2 separate regions of the Homo sapiens genome follow, and region 1 is linked to region 2. Evidence: promoter capture Hi-C in 16 types of primary human blood cells and fetal thymus (Javierre and others, 2016). All regions are on one chromosome and are shown on one strand. Each heading gives the region's core, a stretch centred on a gene start or on the middle of the fragment in contact. The rest is flanking DNA. Distances are from core to core; before and after follow the strand shown.

The links. Contacts are between HindIII fragments. The CHiCAGO score rates a contact against its expected background, and 5 or more counts as called.
Region 1: a contact is called between the fragment with the promoter of TDRD6 here and a fragment that was not itself captured in region 2, in 1 of 17 cell types (M1 macrophages). The highest score is 5.4, in M1 macrophages.

Annotation. Positions count from the first base shown.
Region 1 is chr6:46,685,233-46,690,809 of GRCh38, reverse strand. TDRD6 (tudor domain containing 6) reads right to left here and starts at 2,925. Exons shown (of 4, transcript NM_001010870.3): 1 at 1-2,925. The coding sequence starts at 2,681. It overlaps TDRD6-AS1 (TDRD6 and SLC25A27 antisense RNA 1), which reads left to right and starts at 2,645. Exons shown (of 2, transcript NR_134643.1): 1 at 2,645-2,876. The HindIII fragment of the contact is 3,266 bases long and covers 520-3,785 here.
Region 2 is chr6:46,417,948-46,423,744 of GRCh38, reverse strand. The region is part of intron 2 of RCAN2 (regulator of calcineurin 2); the gene reads left to right. Among named protein-coding and RNA genes, the nearest start is that of RCAN2, 71 kb to the left of the region's middle. The HindIII fragment of the contact is 9,849 bases long and covers 1-5,797 here.

The DNA.
Region 1 (5,577 bases), core at 1,676-4,175, 270 kb before region 2:
TTCTGGCCAACTGGTTGAATTAAATTATAAAGACTGCACCTAAAAGCCTGTGCCTTAACCTTCAGAAATTCTTCACTAATTGAATAAATATTCTTCACAGATACCATTTCTCTGTCTCCATAATCTACAAATGTTACATTGACATGCTCCACAGACTGTATCCCACTAATAAGTGCTCTGGACCACTGTCTGTTTACTGTTCGCTTAGCCAAACAAGCAAGGGTGTTTCTCTGGTGAGGAGCAGCTGTATTTTTGCAATAGTACTGAATATCAGACATTAGAGTTTTAAGTCCTTGTATGTTCCTGGTCAGCTGACACCAGAAATAGCCAGGGTTTTCAACATAAGACACTCTGACTTCTACTGTACTTCCAACTTCCAGCTCTCCTTTACTAGAGGAGCCTGGCTTAATTTCCAAGCAATTCTGCATAAGAGGAAAATAAACAGATGCTCTTTTCACTTTTTCCTGCACAACTAGTTCAGTTGAACCATTTGTTACAACTGTTGTGTCACTCAAAGCTTTTGAAACAGATGTGGTTTTATTCTCTCTCTTGGCTTTCTGCTCTCCTTCTCCAGTCTTGGCAAAAGGTATTTTGTTACTCTCCGTAGTAAAGTGGTTTGAAACATGCCCTGGGGAGTGGGCATTTACCAGGATATTTTCCTTTGTTTCAAATTCCTGATACTTGGCATATCCAGCTTGGGCAATTACCTTACTAATGTTTTCTTCCCCTGTTCTTGATTCGTCAAGAATCTCAATAACATATTGATGATCCTGTTTATCAAGAATATGGATGACTAATTCTTTGTGGAGCACAGTCTTTTTAAAAAAGGAAACTGCCTCCTGGCTCCAAGTTTTTCCCAAAGGCCAAATATCAGCCAGGGTGCACTTCACAGCCAATATTGGTAGCTGCCTAAACTGAGGAAGCAGCATCCTTACGTCATACCAGTCCACATTTTCCGAATTGCCTCGGTCAACTAAGAATACATCCACACTCTTGTCATCCAATTTGGTGACTATGGCCCTATAATAACCATTTTCTTTCCACTTGACACAGCAAAGGTCATCAGGTTCAGGTTTCAAAACTACACCATCCAGCTTACTGGCAGAGGAATAGAAACCACACATTCTCCTCATCAGCTTACTGAAGGTGACATTGTGTTTCCTCAACCTAATCCAAAACTCAGAAGGATTTTTAACAAACTCTACCTGCGCATCGTAGAAGGCATTCATCTTTAACCTGATAGATCTTAAGGCTGGGAGTGAAATCTCTTCATCTACTTCTTCAGCAGGAGACTGAGACTGAGATGTTTCTGGTTCCTCCTCCTCTGTTGCCTGGCTCTGAAGGACTCGGTCAGCCAAGCAACACGACTGTACTCCAAACACACGGTTCAGATTAATCCCATCTTCTCCATACAGGCTGACATAATACACATGCTCAAAGGAGCAATAAAATTCAATCTTTGCATTCACTGCCTTGCCTAGTATCAGTGTCTTCAGGTCACCGACCTGTGACCGAGACCAGCCTCTCCCACCGTCCCAGAGTCCATACAAAGCACAAGGGTAGGTCACCACCGGCATTCGAAAATATTCAGGCAGCAAGTACCGAAGGCTGCTGCAACTCACTAACTCCTTCCTTCCATAGTCCACATGAAGCACCTGGGCACAGCGCTGGGGCCGAAAAGTCTCAAGCAACAGTGCTCTGTACCAATGTCCATCCAGGCCACAGGATGCACACGGAGAGCCCGGCTTATCTGGGCTCTCCTCCCTCTCCTCCCAGGTGGCACTGGTAGAGTTCTCATCCCCTGTCCCCGTGGAACCCCGGTATACCTGGGCCATGCTCTCGGAGAGGCGGTGGATCTCCTGCGAGACGCTGCGGAGCTGGCAGTGAATGCGGTGGGGATGGCACACTTGGGTTATGACCACGGCCTCCGTCACGCCCAGCTGCAGCTGGGGATAGAAGTAATCCAGACCAGGCTGCTTTTGCTTGAGCGGGACTCGCGAGAGAACCGGGACCCCGGAGCCCACGCTAGCAGTGGCCGCTGTGAGATAGCGCTCCAGCAGCGAACGGAAGAGGCTGTCGGGCACCCGCCGAGCCAGGCCCAGCTCCCGCATCTGTTGGAACACATCAGGCACCTCCAGGAGGACCAGGCGATGGAGCAGCAGCACGTCCAGGACGCACCCGTGCACCTCCTTGCCCTGAAGGTTGCTAAGGAAGTCCACGGCGTCGGCGGGCCAGTGCTGCGGCGGCTCGCCTGAGCCCGCGCCGCAGCCTGCCGGCACCAGGCCCGCTAGCACGCAGCCCAGCACTTCCGAGGGCAAATTGAAGAACTCTCTGCGCCCAGGCGCCAGCGAGCCTGCTCCGGCCGTGATGGTGCGGCCCTCGTCCAGCAGGAAGACACGGCTCTCCTGTGCCTGCCGGCTGACCACGCGGCAGCGGTGCCACAAAAGCCCGACCTGCACCAGGCACAGCTCGCCGGGCGAGGCCGAGGCGCTGCCCAGCGCCCACTGGCCGCGCGTGGCCGCCGCTTCCTGGATTTCCCGGCTCAGCCGCAGGTACTCGCCCCGCCGCTCGCCCACCAGCCCCCACAGCTGCACCGGGATCACATCGGGATGCACGTCCACGAAGGACACCCGCAGGGCCAGCGAGGCCCCCGGCGCCGGCATTCCGGGCGTCGAGCACATCTTGACGGCGCGGCGCGGCCCCCACTTCCGGAAATTAAGGGCCGCGCCTCAGGGCCTCGAAATCCTCCGCGCCGCCTGAAGGCGAGTCCCAGCCAAACTAGGTTCAAAGGACCCAGTGGAGGGGAAGAATGCCGGCGAGGCCTTTTCTCGGCAACTCCCCCGTCGAGGGTCCTCCGGGACTCCCGCCACGGACTGGTAAGACCCGGTAGCCCCTCCAACCGCCCGAGGTCGCGCTTCCGGGCACGCATTTACCTCACTCGGCGCCGCCACTTCCGGCCGCGGAGAGTGGGCGGGGCCAGCCGAGGCCTGGGGTTGGCCTAACGCCTAAGGGCCCAAGGAGCTTGTTGGGACGTTCAGGAGACCCCGAGGTGGGAGGTTTTGGACACAACCTGCATCTCCTCAGAGCGCCTTCGACTCTGGAGGCCGCCGTGTGACGGCCTGACACAGGGCTGCGGTGAGGACCGACCAGAGAGGGATTTCCTTTTCGTCCTCCCAACTACCAGGGATTGAGCACTGGGGGCCAGGCAAGGTACTAGCCAGTGGCGTTCCCGACGGGAACGAGAAACGCAGGAGCCAATGGCACGTTCCTAGGCGTTAAGGCCGGAACTCTAGGAGGGCCCTGGGTGCTGCTGCGGGGCACGGGTGCTCCTGCTGGCTCAGTGTGTCCGTGGACAGCCAGGTGCTCAGCCTCTATTCTTTAACCCTGTTCCATCATCTGAATTGATAAGAGTTGTTATGAGGTTAAAATAACGTGTGAAAGTATATAGCAACTGGTACATATTTCCCTTCCCACACTTAGCTGATACGGGTTCCTTTGCTCCTTTGCTGTCTAACTCTGGCATCCCAATTTTGAAGGCATTTTCATTTACTCACAGAGCTAGCACAGAACTGGATTCATAAAAGGAGGCCAAGAGGAATGGAATCAACATTCCTTCAAGCCCCTGCTGTATATACTAAAATCTTAACAGGATAACCCTTTGAGGCCTCTGTTAAATGTCCAAACCTCCATTTGGAATGGAAAAGTGCAGGCAAACTAGAAGTTTCCAGGATATGTCTACATTAGATTTTTGTTCATTTGCAAAGTTAGACACATCCGTGGAAGCTTCTTATAGTCTGCCTGTACTTTTCCTTTCATTCCACGTTTCGAAATGTCATTACATACAAATACAACAAGGCAGTGCTTCAAATGACCCTGGCCTAACTGTAAATCTCAGTGTCTTCAGTCTGTCCAGATTAGAGGCAACCATGTGCTTCCACATCACCCTATGCTTACTTTTTCACGGCACTTTTCACATTGTGTGGCAACTGTCTGATCTCTATCATCCCACCAGCCGACAGGTTCCCTTTGGCAAGTACCGTTTGTTGGATTCTCGGAATCTAGCTTGGAGTGAAGGCAATGAATATTTGCTAAATGAATATGAATGAATGAATGAATGAATCCAATTTCTCTAAAAGCCAAAGCTTTTCTTTTCCTGAAGAACTCATCCTTGAAAACTCAATTTTCCCATTTTTTTTCTAATTGTTTCATATTCATTATGGAAGAAAAACATTTTATTTAAAAACATCTAGCAAGACCTAGCTCAAACGTCGTTTCCTCGTGACCCTACTATTCAACCTGGCAGAATTGGTTATTCCTTTTTTTTTTTTTTTTTACATACTTCTATATTATTATATTTTGTAGCTCTCTGTTTGCCACAGTAGGAACATCTTAAAAGCAGGAACACTTCTCATTTATTTTTATGTTCTCGATGCCTAGCCAGTGCTGGACTGTTAGCATCCAGTAAATCTTAACAAGAGTAAGCAATCTAACACTATGGCCTTTACAGTGGAAAGAAGGAATTCATTATAAAATGGTCTTATGATCACTTGAAATTGTTTTATCATTACATGGAATAATGGAGACTTTAATCCATCATCTATTTCAGGTTCATGTAGTATAACCAAACTCCTTTGTAGACCACAGGGTTGTAGATATTATGACTTTCTGTATTTCATTTGTCCTCCAACCTCCTTCCATGGCTCATGGCCTTAATCCTAGGACGTCAGGGTATATCACGTGGCCGTTATGGGCTGATCTGAATCCTTTACCCCCATCCACCCAGATTTTCCAATGTCCTACCTTTTCTGTATCTGGAGCAGGTAGCATTAGTTTGTTCTGTCATGCTCTGCTGTTGGACAGGGACTCGGGTTAATTTTAAAAATCAGGTCATTGCACTGTTAAGATTAAGCTCCCCTCATATATCTCCCATACTATATTAAACAAAATATCTTGAGTTTTATAATAAATAAACTTTCCTCCCATTAGTCTTGAGAGGCCCTTGGTTTCGGAAAAGAAGGGAGAGGGGATTTTTTTTTTATTATTATTGTACTTTAAGTTCTGGGACATTATGTACAGAACGTGCAGATTTGTTACATAGGTATACACATGCCATGGTGGTTTGCTGCACCCATCAACCCATCATCTACATTAGGTATTTCTCCTAATGCTATCCCTCCCCTATCCTTCCACCCCTTGACAGGCCCCGGTATGTGAAGTTTGGGAGAGAGGATATTCTTATCCTAATACAAATACGTAAGGGATAAAGGGGGAAAGGTTAAGGCCAGGGATGGAATGTGTATGACAGGTGTTTGAATACTAATATTATGAGCCACTTCAATATTTTTTATGGAAACGATGCAGGAAAATTGGGCTAAATAAATCATACTTATTTTGTGCTGTCTTAGGCCTCTGTGTATAGAGAACTCTAAGCAGAAATGCAGTATACTTTACAGTCTATAGTTTCTATACTACTAATTGACTTTGTTTAAAGTTGCTTAGAAAAATTAACATTTACTGGATATTTTTAGAAAACAGTTCAAGTAAGAAATACCCTGTTAGGAGAATGAAAAAGACAAG
Region 2 (5,797 bases), core at 3,117-5,616:
AAAGATGTGGCAAAAATTGTAACTATCTAAGACAATAGGATTTAAAATGTGATAATCAGATCACAATAAAAACAATGAGATAATAAGGTACCCATAATTAAATTACAAAATGTATAAGGAAACAGGTTAATGATTTATACAAGTAGATTTAAAAAATGTCTATCGAAGGTGAAACCCTGAGTATTGACTTCAGAGAGGAAGGGTCAGTATTCTCGAGCTAATAAGTCCATATTATACCAAGGAAGAGGAAAGAGCTCACCAGAGTTGTGGATAAGAATCAACCTTCAAGAAGGAGGAGAAATAGCTTGGTCTCATCTTGTCTCTTTTCTGTTCTCTCTTGCTTTTTTCTTTGTTCTATCCTCTACAATATTGAAAAGTGTAAAATACAAACACTATAGGATTGGCCATCTAGAGTCCTGGGTTTTAGACTTGGTCTGGTCTGCTATAATCAACAGTGTGATCTTAGACAAGCCACTTGGCCTCCTGGGACCCCAGTCTCCTCATTTGGAAATAAGAAGGCAAATTATCTTAAGAGTCCTTTCTTAGGCTGATTCTTGGAATCACCTAAACAATCCACAAATACTAGGACTTCCTGGAATAAAATTAGGAATCCAGATGGTCTAATACTAATGCTTAGACCCACTCCTTCACCAAGGCACTAGATACCCCAAATGAAACACCTGGACCTCCCCAGGAACCAAGGTCCTCTGGATCCTCTGGCCTGACAGTCACAGGAGGATGGTCTGAGATAAGTCTGTCTGGTCCTAAAGTAATGCATACTTGACAAGAAGTTGGTTATCTTGACATAGCATTACTCCTTGTGAAAAATGCCCTTGAGAGCTTTGTTTATTCTCTTCACCTCCTCATCAGTAGTACTGTGCTAACATTTCTGTTATTCATCATGTTTTAAAATTAGCTTCTTAATCCTCTTAATATTTTCAACTTCTCTGCCTTGAGATAGGCACCCAGCCTGAACTTGGTTTTCTGCAGCCTTTGTACAGCATATAAATAACAAGAATGGATTGTTCCCATAGCCTTGGCTTCTTCACTAAATTAACTACATTTACTCATTACTCTTATTTTTGTTCTTGGTGGAATAGACCTAAATTTTCTCAACTAAATTTGGCTTTGAAATTCTATGGTATGTTCTTTATCTCCATTCACTTTGATGTTGGTAGCTTTTTAAATCTGTTTGGAACATGTCTTCCTTCGTTTTTAAAAGCATCCCTTTTCTATGAGGCTTTGGCTTATTTTCTTTTTCTTTTACTAGCTTCTCTTTCTTCTCTACTCCCTGTCTTAGTCCATTTGTGTTACTATAAAGGAATACCTGAGGTTGGATAATTGATAAAGAAAAGAGGTTTATTTGTTGTTCTGCAGGCTGTATAGGAAGCATGGTGCCAGCATCCACTTCTGGTGAGGGCTTCAGGCTGCTTCCACTCATGGCAGAAGAAGAAGGAATACAGGGATCACAAGGCTAGAAAGGAGGCCAGAGAGGGCTGGGCCGGGGAGGTGCCAGGCTCTTTTTTACAACCAGCTGGCAGGAGAACTCTCGCAGGAACTAACAGTGAGAACTCACTCATCCCCACCACCCAGGGAGGATATTAATCTATTAGTGAGGGATCCTCCCTCATGACCCCAACACCTCCCATTAAGCCCCACCTCCAACACTGGGGATCAGATTTCAAATGAGATTTGGAAGAGTCAAACAAACCAAACTGCAGCACTCCCTAAGGCATCTATTCTTATGGTCCTATACGTAGCTCACTTCTTATTTCTAAATAATTATTTTCCTTGGAAATTATATTTACTAACAGTTTTCTATCTCCTTTAAGCAGATGATGTTTATGTTTTGATATTTATTTATTTTTATCAGCTGGTTACTTTCATCATTCATTAGCCATTTATTGAGTACCTATTATGAATTATGTACTGTGCTGGTACTAAGGATATAAAGATCAGTGACTTTCTCTACTTTTAATGAGTTCTAATGGAGTCTCATTGAAGTGACAGACACAGAGTTAGATAATGCCAACCCAATATAACATGCTAAACTAGGATGTTAAACAAACTGCTTTTGGAACCTGGAGAAGTGAGTAAATGACCTCTGAGGACTATCAAGGAAAGACTTCCTGGAAGAAAGGACATTGGCAGTGGGTATTAAAAGTTGAGTAGGAGTTTGTGAGTTGCGACATCTCCCAACTTCCTTCTGCTCTGTTCACTCTGATGTTTCACTGTCATCTTAAATTTAACATGTCAAAAGTCAAATTCTTTATCTTTCACCCTAAATTACTTCACTCACTTGAGTTTCCTATTACATTATTCTCTGAATCATCCTTTTGGCGTTTTTGTCTCTTTCCTCTCTGTTGTCCTGCTGTCAGCCACAAAGTCATCTGCGTGCTTTCTTCATTTTTTCATTCAGTTGTTCCCACTGCCCCAGACACTTCATACTCTGCCACCTCCTGTCTGGGTTATTACAGTGGACTCCAGCTGATTAATCTGCCTAAGTTTACTTTCCCCATTTAATCTGTTTTGTACATCATTGCCCATTGCTCTTTTTTTGGATATCAGTTTGATTCTGTCACTCATCTATTTAGAAATAATGGCAAACTGGCACTTGCTCAATGCTGGGATGGTTTGTGAAGTAATTTTAAAAAATGTTATCTCATTTCATTATCAAAACAACTTTGTGAAATAAATACTGGAACTTACTGAATATCCTCTAAATTTAGAATTCAGTAGTCTATGAGCTCCTGTAACCAGGGATGACATCATGTTCATCTCAGCCTCCTTAGTGCCTAGCACAGTGCTGATTCATAAATGATGTTAAAAACACATTATGGATTCACTCCTGCCTAGTGTCTGTGCATCTTTATGTGCCCAGTTAAAAATAGTTGATCAGGCTGGGTGCAGTGGCTCATGTCTGTAATCCCAGCTGTTTGGGGGGCCGAGGAGGGCAGATTACCTGAGGTCAAGAGTTCGAGACCAGCCTGGCCAACATGATAAAACCCCATCTCTACTAAAAGTACAAAAAAAAGTAGCCGGGCCTGATGGTGGGTACCTGTAATCCCAGCTACTTGGGAGGCTGAGGCAGGAGAATCACTTGAACCCAGGAGGGGAGGTTGCAGTGAGCCGAGATTGCACCATTGCACTCCAGCCTGGGAGACAGAGTGAGACACCATCTCAAAAAAAAAAAAAAAAAAGTTAATCAGAAGACATTGAAATGACATTATAAAAAATAACAGGACAGTTTTGCCAATATTTCCAGTGCTGATTCCACACCCTGCTCAGCAGTCAGAGAATCACTTCTTCATGCTGTGATTACTGCTGTTGCTGAACCGCTCTTGAGCCTGAAGATTCCTGATGGATTCTTAACAGTCAGTGCTATATAGATACAGAACCACTCCTTGCAAATAGCTCCCCTTAATGATGCAACCAAGACTCTTGCACACGGTAGTCTGTATTATTCTTAAAATCAGACTCAATTTAATTGTCTTGCATGGATTTTAGTGATACGATGATAACTAAAACATTTGTTTAAATGCTCTAGTCTTTCAGGTTTTGTTTTTTTTTTTAATGTGAGGGTTGTATGGCTTATAATCTGTACTCTGTTTATCTGCCTGTCTTAACTCCTAACTTCATAGGAAAACTGGTTGTAGAAGGGATAATATTAAATATACTTAAAAATATTAATGAAGTAAAATAATTTAAGTCTTGTCTGCGAGAATTTGAAATTTTAAATCTGACAACACAGTGAAAAGGATCTGTCTACTCTTGTCTGGCATGAACCAATTTGGGTAAAAAGACTACATGACTTTTTTGGTTGTTAATGTTTTTATGAAATCATAGAATATAATCTATACTGAATTTTGAAAGGCAGTTTGCCAACACGAAGAATAAATGAACCAGCAAACTATTTAGAAATGTGCTTGACTTATTTATGTTCTTTCTCAGCCAAAATGGTTTGAAGACGTGAGGCTTTCTTTCCAAGAGTCCCTGCTGCCATCTGCTGGTCTTCATTATTCAGCAGCCAACTTCTAAATGGAGTCTGGATGACATGGTTCCATGAGATATGATTTTCAGGGGAAAAATATTTTGTAATTTTATTATATTTTAAAAATAGAAGTAATACTAAATTGAGATTAAATAAACAAATAATCTGCTTAGAACAATTTATTTTTATAAAATCTTGGGCAAAAATTTAAAACAGGGTCCCAGGGAAAGTCATCTTTCTCATATTAACATGTACCTTCCGTGGATGAAATCAGGTGGTTTGAAGCTGTGATAGATTGGTTTTGAAGTGAAGCAAGCTCCAAACTCCGGTACTCTGTGTGTGGATGAGGAAGAAGTTGGAATATTGGGAGAAGAGCATACTAGGCCTTCTAAACCGGTGGTTCTCAAGCTCTAGCAGAATCAGAATCACTTGGAAGGCCTGTTTGAAAAAAGGTTGTTGGGCCTTATCTAGTGGTATACTATTAAATGCTTTACAACTGGCTTATTGGTTAAAAGGCCCTGATGTGTAGCATTTGCTGACTTCCATGGTGTAAATGCTCCCGCTGTGGCTGGTTTCAAACTTTCCACATGGCATCACTAAATGTAGGGTTGAGAAGAGATGTACTGTAGCTCACTATTACGTCGTATTTTCACCATATGCCTACAATATATGCACACGGCCTGAAGAGCACAGATTGTAGCCAAATTATGTTATTTTCTTTTTTCTTTTGGGCTTTTTTTTGCTATCTCGGCTCACTGCAGCCTCCGCTTCCCAAGTAGCTAGGACTACAGGTGTGTGCCGCCACGCCCAGCTAATTTTTATATTTTTAGTAGAGACGGGGTTTCACCATGTTGGCCAGGATGGTCTTGATCTCCTGACCTTGTGATCTGCCCACCTCGGCTTCCCAAAGTGCTGGGATTACAGTCATGAGCCACTGTGCCCGGCCAATCACATTATTTTCTAAAGAAGCATTGAATTTTGAGTATTTATTATTTCTGTCTTAATCCATTTACCTGCAACTGTATATATATATATATATATATATATATATATATATACACACACACATATTTTAGAGATGATTATATTTAACAATCAGCCGATAAAATTCCTGGAAATTTAAGCCACTCCCCCAGAGTGGATGGGAGCTGGCTCCTAGCACATGACTAGTTCCACCTGTAGAGTGTCTGGTGTGGGTCAGTGGGTCTGGGGACACTGAGACTGGTCAGACGAGAATGACAAAAAGATCCACGTAGTCATTAAAGGGTGGTTACAAGGCACTGATTGTAAGGAGGGGTGGGATATGAAATCCAAATTTTGTAAGGAATTGAGGACGTGGAGCAAGTTACTTTGATTCTGGATGGCGAAAAAGTGGCAGCTTTAATGATTAGAGGGCTGAATGAAGTGGAAGAATTTTTGGAAGGGTCAGAGAGGAATATTTGAAGTGTTTATTATTTCCGTTTTAATTGATTAACTTGCACATTTATATAACTTAGTTTTTAGTGATGGCTTTAGAGTTTTAAAGTGTTTGCTTTAAAAATTCAGGTTGTTTGTCTCTGACCTTATAATGGACGTTAGATACCTAAAGTATAAGATATTTTGTTAAGATAATGTTATATTACTATATTATCATAATTTTCCTTTCTTGAAGTTTAAATAAGGATAGTGATAATAATCTCATATATGATTAATGTCAAATGATGTACAAAACAAAGGTGGGATTTGTGAGAGAACATTGGCATTTGCACCAGACAGCTGGATTCAAGTTTCAGATTATTCATTTAATAGCTGTGTGACTCTTATCAC